2 separate regions of the Homo sapiens genome follow, and region 1 is linked to region 2. The links are contacts of gene promoters, found by promoter capture Hi-C in blood cells and fetal thymus (Javierre and others, 2016). All regions are on one chromosome and are shown on one strand. Each heading gives the region's core, a stretch centred on a gene start or on the middle of the fragment in contact. The rest is flanking DNA. Distances are from core to core; before and after follow the strand shown. Region 1 holds the start of DLL4 (delta like canonical Notch ligand 4). Region 2 has its middle 54 kb from the start of INO80.

Region 1 (3,567 bases), core at 577-3,076, 240 kb after region 2:
CCCAGGCTAGAGAGGACCCTGGGAGCAGGGGGTCCTTTGGTGCCCATTCAGGGGTTCTGCCTCCAGAGGTGGGTAATGGTTTTCTTTTTTCCTTTTCAAAGTGAGAATTGTTGTGCTGCTGAAATATCCTTTTCCTCTGTGTCAGAACAACATCCCAAAGCCATTATTCCCTTTCCAAAGGAGCGGAATTCGCGAAAGGTGTAAAATACAGGAAGGGGCCCGTCAGCGGCGCTGGCAGCTTCAGCCTTTCTCACCGCCGTACTCCCCGCGTTCCCACGCCAAAAATAACCCGCAGGAAACGCAATTGTGCTCTGAGTCCAGGCAGCGAGCGGAATCCGAGCGTCCAGCGCGGGGCGCAGCTCCAGGCCAAGCTAAGCGTCCTGCCTCCCACCCCCAAGCCCGCACTTCCCCCGCCTAGAACAGATTAACTCTTTCGGCGCTGCGCCGTGTCGCCCCCCTGTGGTGGCGGAGCGAGCTACTCACCTGGCCGCAGGTCGTCTCCTGGCGCGTGCCAAGCTTCGATGATGAGCGAGAAGGTACCCTGGGAAAGGGGGTGGGGGGACGGAGAGATGGCGAGATGAGCAAGCGGGGAGAGGTGGGGGTGCCTTGCGGCAGCCTGTTTAATTAATCTAATTGCAGGATTCAGTTACTGCGCCCGGGTCAACATAACGGGGCTGTGCACAGTGTAGCGCTTGAGCAGGGAAGGCGAGAGGAGAACCCCCGGTAGAGGGAGGGTTGAGAGACGGGAGAGTGTAAGGGAGAGCCACTGGAGGAGGGGGTGGTAGGGTACCGCCCCAGAGTGGTAGGTAATGAAAATCGTGTCCCAAGAGCTGGGGACGGGAGGACATAAACTGGGAAGACGGAGACTGGTGAGAGCCTTTTCTGGGATCAGTCTCAGGAGAGAGTCGGGAAGAGCCAGGAAAGAATGCATCCTGGGCTTTTTGGGGGTGGGGGTGTGTGTACAAGGAAATCTGGGGAGGGGGCTTTGGTCCCAGGGCGCCTCCTCTCTCGGCTTCTGCGACCTCCCAGTGCGCCCAGGCTGTGCTCACCGGCCAGGTGAAATTGAAGGGCAGTTGGAGAGGGTTGCGCCCCCCGCCGCTACTGTCGTCCCGGACAGCGAAGGAGTTGGTGCCCAATACCGGCGTGGAGACGGTCCCGAAGGTGCAGGGTCCGGGCGAGACGACCGCCTGGAAGTGCTTAAGGCAGACGCGGAAGAAAGTCCGGCAGCCGGGCTCGCAAGGCCGCCCACTGGCCAGTACGCCGCGCTCGTTGATGAACTCCTGCAGCTGCAGCTGGAAGACGCCGGAGCCGGCCGCGCGCTATTGCACAGGGACCGAGGGAAGGAGGGAGGGGACCGGTCAGCTCAGCTGGTGCCCGGGGCTGAGGCCCAGAGCGCGGCAGAGGGGACGGAGAGGGCGCGGGACGTGTTACCTGCTGCCAAAGTGCCACCAGCAGCAGTAGCGCCCAGCCAGAGGCGCTCCGGGACGCTGCCGCCATCCCCTCGGGCGTCGCTCTCTCCACCCGCGGGCCCTCAATCTGGCTCTGTTCGCGACGCCGCTTTCCCGCGCGTCCGCCAGCCGGCGGGGTCCCTGAAAAGAGGCGCTCCTCTCGGGACGCTGCTCCCCTTTGGCCTTCTCGCTGGCTCCGCTGCAGCTGCCGCTGTAGGTAATCCAGGTGACTACGGCTGGGCGGCGACCGCGCCGAGGACGCGTCTTCTGTCTAATCCTGGGGCTGCAAGCGGGCTAGTGCCGGTGTACGCTGCACCAAGGCGGCTGGGGCTGCGGCTCTTGGCCTCGTGTTCCCGGCCTGCGCGCAGCGCCGCTACTGAAACCTGCGCGCTGGGGGCCTTCCTTATATATATTGGCTCCTCTCCTCGCCGCCTGTCACTCAGACTCATGGTCATTCTCCCCTCCCCTCCCGGCCTCTAGCTGCTACAGTCCCAGCGCCGCCCGGAGGGGGCCTCCGCCCCCGCCGCTCCCCCCTCCCCGTCAGCCAGTCGGGCGCAGGTCCCCGCCCCTCCGTGCCGCTCCCAACCTCTAGGTCCCCCAGCTCTGCGCGTGCCGAGGTGACCAGTCCTCCGTGATGGCGGGGTTAAGGGCTGAGACCCTGGCCGCCGGAGGATAGAGGGGTTGCCCGGTAATGGGGCAGGAGGTGAGTGGGTGGTTCGGGGATGGTCTTGGGGGCGGAGACACTAGGCAGTCCCTGTAGGCTGTGCATCCGCAGCAGGCGCTAGTTACCTAGTGTTCCAAAGCAGGTAAAAAGAACTTAAGCCCGGAATGCAAAAACCAGCGCTAGGGAAATCCGATCTCCTTTTCCTTCCTGGAGCTTCTGGAGCCCTTGTCTCAACGGCCCCCAACCTATGAGTGCCCACCCACCACGCGTCCCCAGCGCAGCAGGGAAGCCAGCAGAAGCGTTAACCTCTCTGTGGCCACTCTGAGCAAGGCTAGGGGCTAAGGGTCTAAGGCTCGGGGCCCTCTCTGTGCACCTGTTGGGCGTCTCCCTCTCTAGCTAAGGGGGGGCGTGCCCAGCGCGTGCCTTCTCCCTTCTGCCCCCTGCCAGGGCTTGGCGCGTGCCAGAGACCCAGACGCGCGGTCCCTGAGGTGGGGGAGGGCGGGGCGTGGTCCCGGAGGTAGGAGGGGGGCGCGTCCTCAGCTGTATGGTAATGAGGTTCTGGCCCCGCCTCCAGCGCGTCCCCTCACCTGAGTCCAGCTTCAGTTCCTGCGCCCACTGCCTCCCCCCACCCCAGCAGCCCCAAGCCCCCGGCCGCGCCCTGTCGCTCAGCTGGGGCAAGGAGGAACTCTCCTGACGCCAGAGTTGGCTCAGGCCACTGGAGAATCAAGGTGAGGGACTGAGGCCGGGTCGGCCCGGGTCCTCGCCTCATAAGGCGGGATGTGGGGTGGAACTGGAGGCTTGCGGAGCTGTTTGAGTTTCAGGCGGCTTCCCAAGTCTCGCCCGAGAGGGTCCCCTGGGTGGCCCCACTCCTCCAAGCGGCAGCAGCGCAGCTGCTTTCTCGGAACCCGGCGTGATCCCCGGAGACCGCAGACCGGGGAGGGCCGGCTTCTCCCAGTCTCAGGGGTGCCGGGGAGCTCTCTCTTTGCGACGCCGAGGGCAGCGGGGGCCCTGTGGCTTCAGCTGTCAGCCCGCCCGCGAGGTGATGGCTGTAGTCGGGCGGTAAGATCAGCGCGGGGGGGGAGCCGGGACGCGGCGCGAACCCGGGGGAGGCGGTAAGGGTGGGGGAGCGGCGAGAAGCCCAACAGCTGCCAATGCCGAGCATGGTCTGATTTTTTTTTTTGAGTTGGGTGGTGGTGGTGGAGGACTGGGGGACGGGTGTGGTGGGGGGGGGAAGGATGAGAAACAAGAGGTTGGGAGCGTGGGTTGGGGGAGGGGCGAGGTGAGGAGACGGGCTCCGGGGTCCCCCACGCACGGCCACCCCTCCCAGCCACCATCTGGCGCGAGCGGGTTGGCGTGGGGAACCGAGGTGGGGCGGGGCGGCAGATGGGCCCAGGCTGCGCTCGGGAGTTAATGTAGGTTATGGGCAGGCGGAGTCCCAGGCCCGAGGGAGGGGGA
Region 2 (4,024 bases), core at 256-2,755:
TACTTGCCTTTAAAATAGAGAACACTGGGCCGGGCACGGTGGCTCACGCCTATAATCTCAGCACTTTGGGAGGCTGAGGCGGGCGGATCACGAGGTCAGGAGATTGAGACCATCCTGGCTAACATGGTGAAACCCCGTCTCTACTAAAAATACAAAAAATTAGCCAGGCGTGGTGGCGGGCGCCTGTGGTCCCAGCTAATCGGGAGGCTGAGGCGGGAGAATGGCGTGAACCCGGGAGGCGGAGCTTGCAGTGAGCCGAGATCGCGCCACTGCACTCCAGCCTGGGCGACTGAGCAAGACTCCGTCTCAAAAACAACAACAAAAATAGAGAACACTGAGCCGTGGCCGTAAAGCTGCCTTATACAGTGTCCCACATGGTAAGCTTCATTTGTTTTTTTGTTTGTGTGTTTGTTTGTTTTTTGAGATGGAGTCTTGCTCTGTCACCCACGCTGGAGTGCAGTGGTGCGATCTGGGCTCTCTGCAACCTCTGCCTCCCAGGTTCAGGTGATTCTCCTGCCTCAGCCTCCTGAGTAGCTGGGATTACAGGCGCTCACCACCATGCCCAGCTAATTTTTATATTTTTAGTAGAGACGGGGTTTCACCATATTGGCCAGACTGGTCTCAAACTCCTGACCTCAAATGATCCACCCACCTTACCTTCCCAAAGTGCCGGGATTACAGGTGTGAGCTACCGCACCCGCAGGCTTCATTTGTTTTGTGCATTCGTTAGCAAACATTTTGGAGGGCCGTTTTGAAGCCAGGCACTGGACTAGATTGGGGAATCAGAGAAAAAAACACACAATCCCTACTCTCAAAGGACTTCGAGTCTAGTGGGCGATATGTACACAAAATTATAACCGAAATAATAGTTATGTTCAAGGTGTACTGGTGCATTGTACGCATGTTGGGAAAGGCAGAGTAGCCCTGGAAAGGAGATAGCACTTGTCCTGGAACTGAGATCCGTGTCAAAAGCTTTCTTCAGAGGAAAGGGTGCACTTTGAGTAAGAGAACTATGAGGATTTCACCATTGAAAGAGGGGAAAAAATACGGTATGATAGTGAGAGATAAGGCTAGGAAATAGACAAGGTCCATGTATCTGTTACAGTTTTTTGGTCATAAGCAAAACAACTGACTCGGTGTGTTAGTCCCTTCTCACACTGTTCTCACACTGCTATAAAGACATACCTGGGCTGGGTGCGGTGGATCACGCCTGTAATCTCAACACTTTGGGAGGGCAAGGTGGGCGGATCACCTGAGGTAAGGAGTTTGAGACCAGCCTGGCCAACATGGTGAAACCCTGTCTTTACTAAAAATACAAAAATTAGCCAGGCATGGTGGCACGCACCTGTAGTCACAGTTACTCAGGAGGCTGAGGCAGAAGAACTGCTTGAATCCAGGAGGCGGAGGTCGCAGTGAACTGAGATCACACCATGGCACTCCAGCCTGGGTGAAGGAGCAAGACTCCATCTCCAAAAAAAAAAAAAAAAAAAGATATACCTGAGACTAAGTAATTGGTTGCCTGAAGCCAATTAAATCTCTTTTCTCTATAAGTTATCATTATCAAATCATAATGCTTCAAACTAAATGTATTCTCTCTGTAAATGGCACCAACTTCCAAACAGATGCCCAAGTCAGAAACCCAGGAGCCAGCTAAGACTGTACGGGATTGTACAGGCTGTATAGACGTCTGTATCTTGGGAGGCCTCAGGAAACTTACAATCCTGGTGGAAAGCAAAGGGGACGCAAGCATGTCTTACATTGCTGGAGCAGGAGGAAGAGAGCAAAAGGGGAAGTGCTACACACTTTCAAAAAAACAGATCTTGGGAGAACTCTATCACAAGACAGCACTAGGCGGATGGTGCTAAACCATTAGAAACCACCCCATGATCCAGTCACCTCCCACCAGGCCCCACCTCCAACCCCTGAGTGGGGACACAGGGCCAAACTATATCACTTGGGTAATATAAACAAGAAGGGAATTTACTGGAAAGATGAGTGGCTCACAGAACTGACTAGAAGGCTAAAAAACTAAGCTTGGAAATAGGATAGAGGGCTATGGCAGAACTCTAGTTAGCAGGAACAACTCAACTGGCAGAGTGAGTGCCAGTTATGAACAAGGAAGTGAGATGATCGGAAATGTAGATTATATATATATATATATATAATTATTATTTTTTCTGAAACAGACTTTCGCTATTTTCGCCCAGACTGGAGTGCAGTGATGTGATCTCAGCTCACTGCAACCAGAAATGTAGATGATAGATCGTCCTGGTTTAAGCTGTAGGATGGATTGAAAAGGAGCAAGAATAATATGAGGAAGACTTGTATGAAAACTCTTGCATTGATTAAGGTGGAAGATGTGAATGCTTGAATTTGGGAGGGATACAGTGGGATACAGTTGGTAGGATGGAGAGGAATACACAAATACAGGATTTTAGGAAGCATAATGAACCAAATGACCAATTGAATATGGATGGTAAAGTGTGGAAAGGAGTCTTGGCTGGCTCCCAGGTTTCTGACTTGGGCATCTGTTTGGAAGTTGGTGCCATTTACAGAGAGAATATATTGAGAGGATAGTTTGCAGAACTGTGATTTGATAGTTGAATTTTACATGTTTCTCATTTAGAATACATTTGGAATTCCTACATGGATGTGTCTACTAGACAGTCAGATATATGTGAATATAGAGAAGGAGAAAGATCTGAGCTAGAGAGATTGGGAGATGTAAATGGCCCTTGAAGTGATGAGCATATACAGTATTTTCCAGGTTTGAGTATAGAGAGTAAGAGAAAAGGAATGAGAAAGATCACACTCCTAAAATAGGGCAAGGCTGGGCGCTGTGGCTGATGCCTGTAATCCCAGCACTTTGGGAGGCTGAGGTGGGTGGATCACCTGACGTCTGGAGTTTGAGACCAGCCTGACCAACACTAAGAAACCCTGTCTTTATACTAAAAATACAAAATTAGCTGGGTGTGGTGGTGCATGCCTGTAATCCCAGCTACTCAGGAGGCTGAGGCAGGAGAATCACTTGAACCCGGGAGGCGGAGGTTGTGGTGAGCTGAGATCTCGCCATTGCACTCCAGCCTGGGCAACAAGAGTAAAACTCCTTTTCAAAAAAAAAAAAAAAAGGTAAAAGCCCGGGTGTAGTGGCTCACGCCTGTAATCTCAGCACTTTGGGAGGCTGAGGTGGGCGGATTACGAGATCAGGAGATCAAGACCATCCTGGCGAACACAGTGAAACCCCATCTCTACTAAAAATACAAAAAGTTAGCCGGGTGTGGTGGGCACCTGTAGTCCCAGTTACTCGGGAGGCTGAGGCAGGAGAATGGCGTGAACCCAGGTGGCGGAGCTTGCAGTGAGCCGAGATTGCGCCACTGCACACTCCAGCCTGGGCGACGAGCGAGACTCCCTCTCAAAAAAAAAAAAAAGTAAACAGGAAGAGATACACACAGAGACCAAGAAGGAGAAGACAAATAGGAAGAAAATCAGAATAGTATTATGTAAACCAGAAACCTCATTTGTAGTTTGATGAACTCTCATTGTAAGTTATATCAACCACAAATTATTTTTAACGGTTTTACTAAGATATAATTTTTTTTTTTTTTGAGACAGAGTTTCACTCTTGTTGCCTAGCCTGGAGTGCAATGGCTTGATCTCAGATCACTACAACCTCCGCCTTCTGGGTTCAAGCGATTCTCCTGCCTCCTCCCAAGTAGCTGGGATTACAGGCATGCACCACCCCGCCTGGCTAATTTTGTATTTTTAGTAGAGCCAGGGTTTCACCATCTTGGTCAGGTTGGTCTTGAACTCCCGACCTCAGGTGATCCACCTGCCTTGGCCTCCCGAAGTGCTGGGATTACAGGCGTGAGCCACCGCGCCCGACTGATATAATTTTTTTTTTTTTGAGACAGTGTTTCACTCTATCACCCAGGATAGAGTGCAGTGGCGAAATCTTAGCTCACTGCAACCTCCACCCTCTGGGGTTAAGTGATCCTCCCACTTCAGTAGCTGGGACCACAGGCGT

The links. The method cuts DNA at HindIII sites, captures the fragments that hold promoters and counts their contacts. A CHiCAGO score of 5 or more calls a contact.
Region 1: a contact is called between the fragment with the promoter of DLL4 here and a fragment that was not itself captured in region 2, in 11 of 17 cell types (erythroblasts, M1 macrophages, endothelial precursors and 8 more). The highest score is 8.3, in erythroblasts.

The regions. Positions count from the first base shown.
Region 1 is chr15:40,927,599-40,931,165 of GRCh38, reverse strand. DLL4 (delta like canonical Notch ligand 4) reads right to left here and starts at 1,826. Exons shown (of 11, transcript NM_019074.4): 1 at 1,432-1,826; 2 at 1,050-1,319; 3 at 484-541. The coding sequence starts at 1,497. RefSeq lists silencers at 1,932-2,021, 2,615-2,684. The HindIII fragment of the contact is 7,449 bases long and covers 519-3,567 here.
Region 2 is chr15:41,167,791-41,171,814 of GRCh38, reverse strand. No RefSeq gene overlaps it. Among named protein-coding and RNA genes, the nearest start is that of INO80, 54 kb to the right of the region's middle. The HindIII fragment of the contact is 1,061 bases long and covers 975-2,035 here.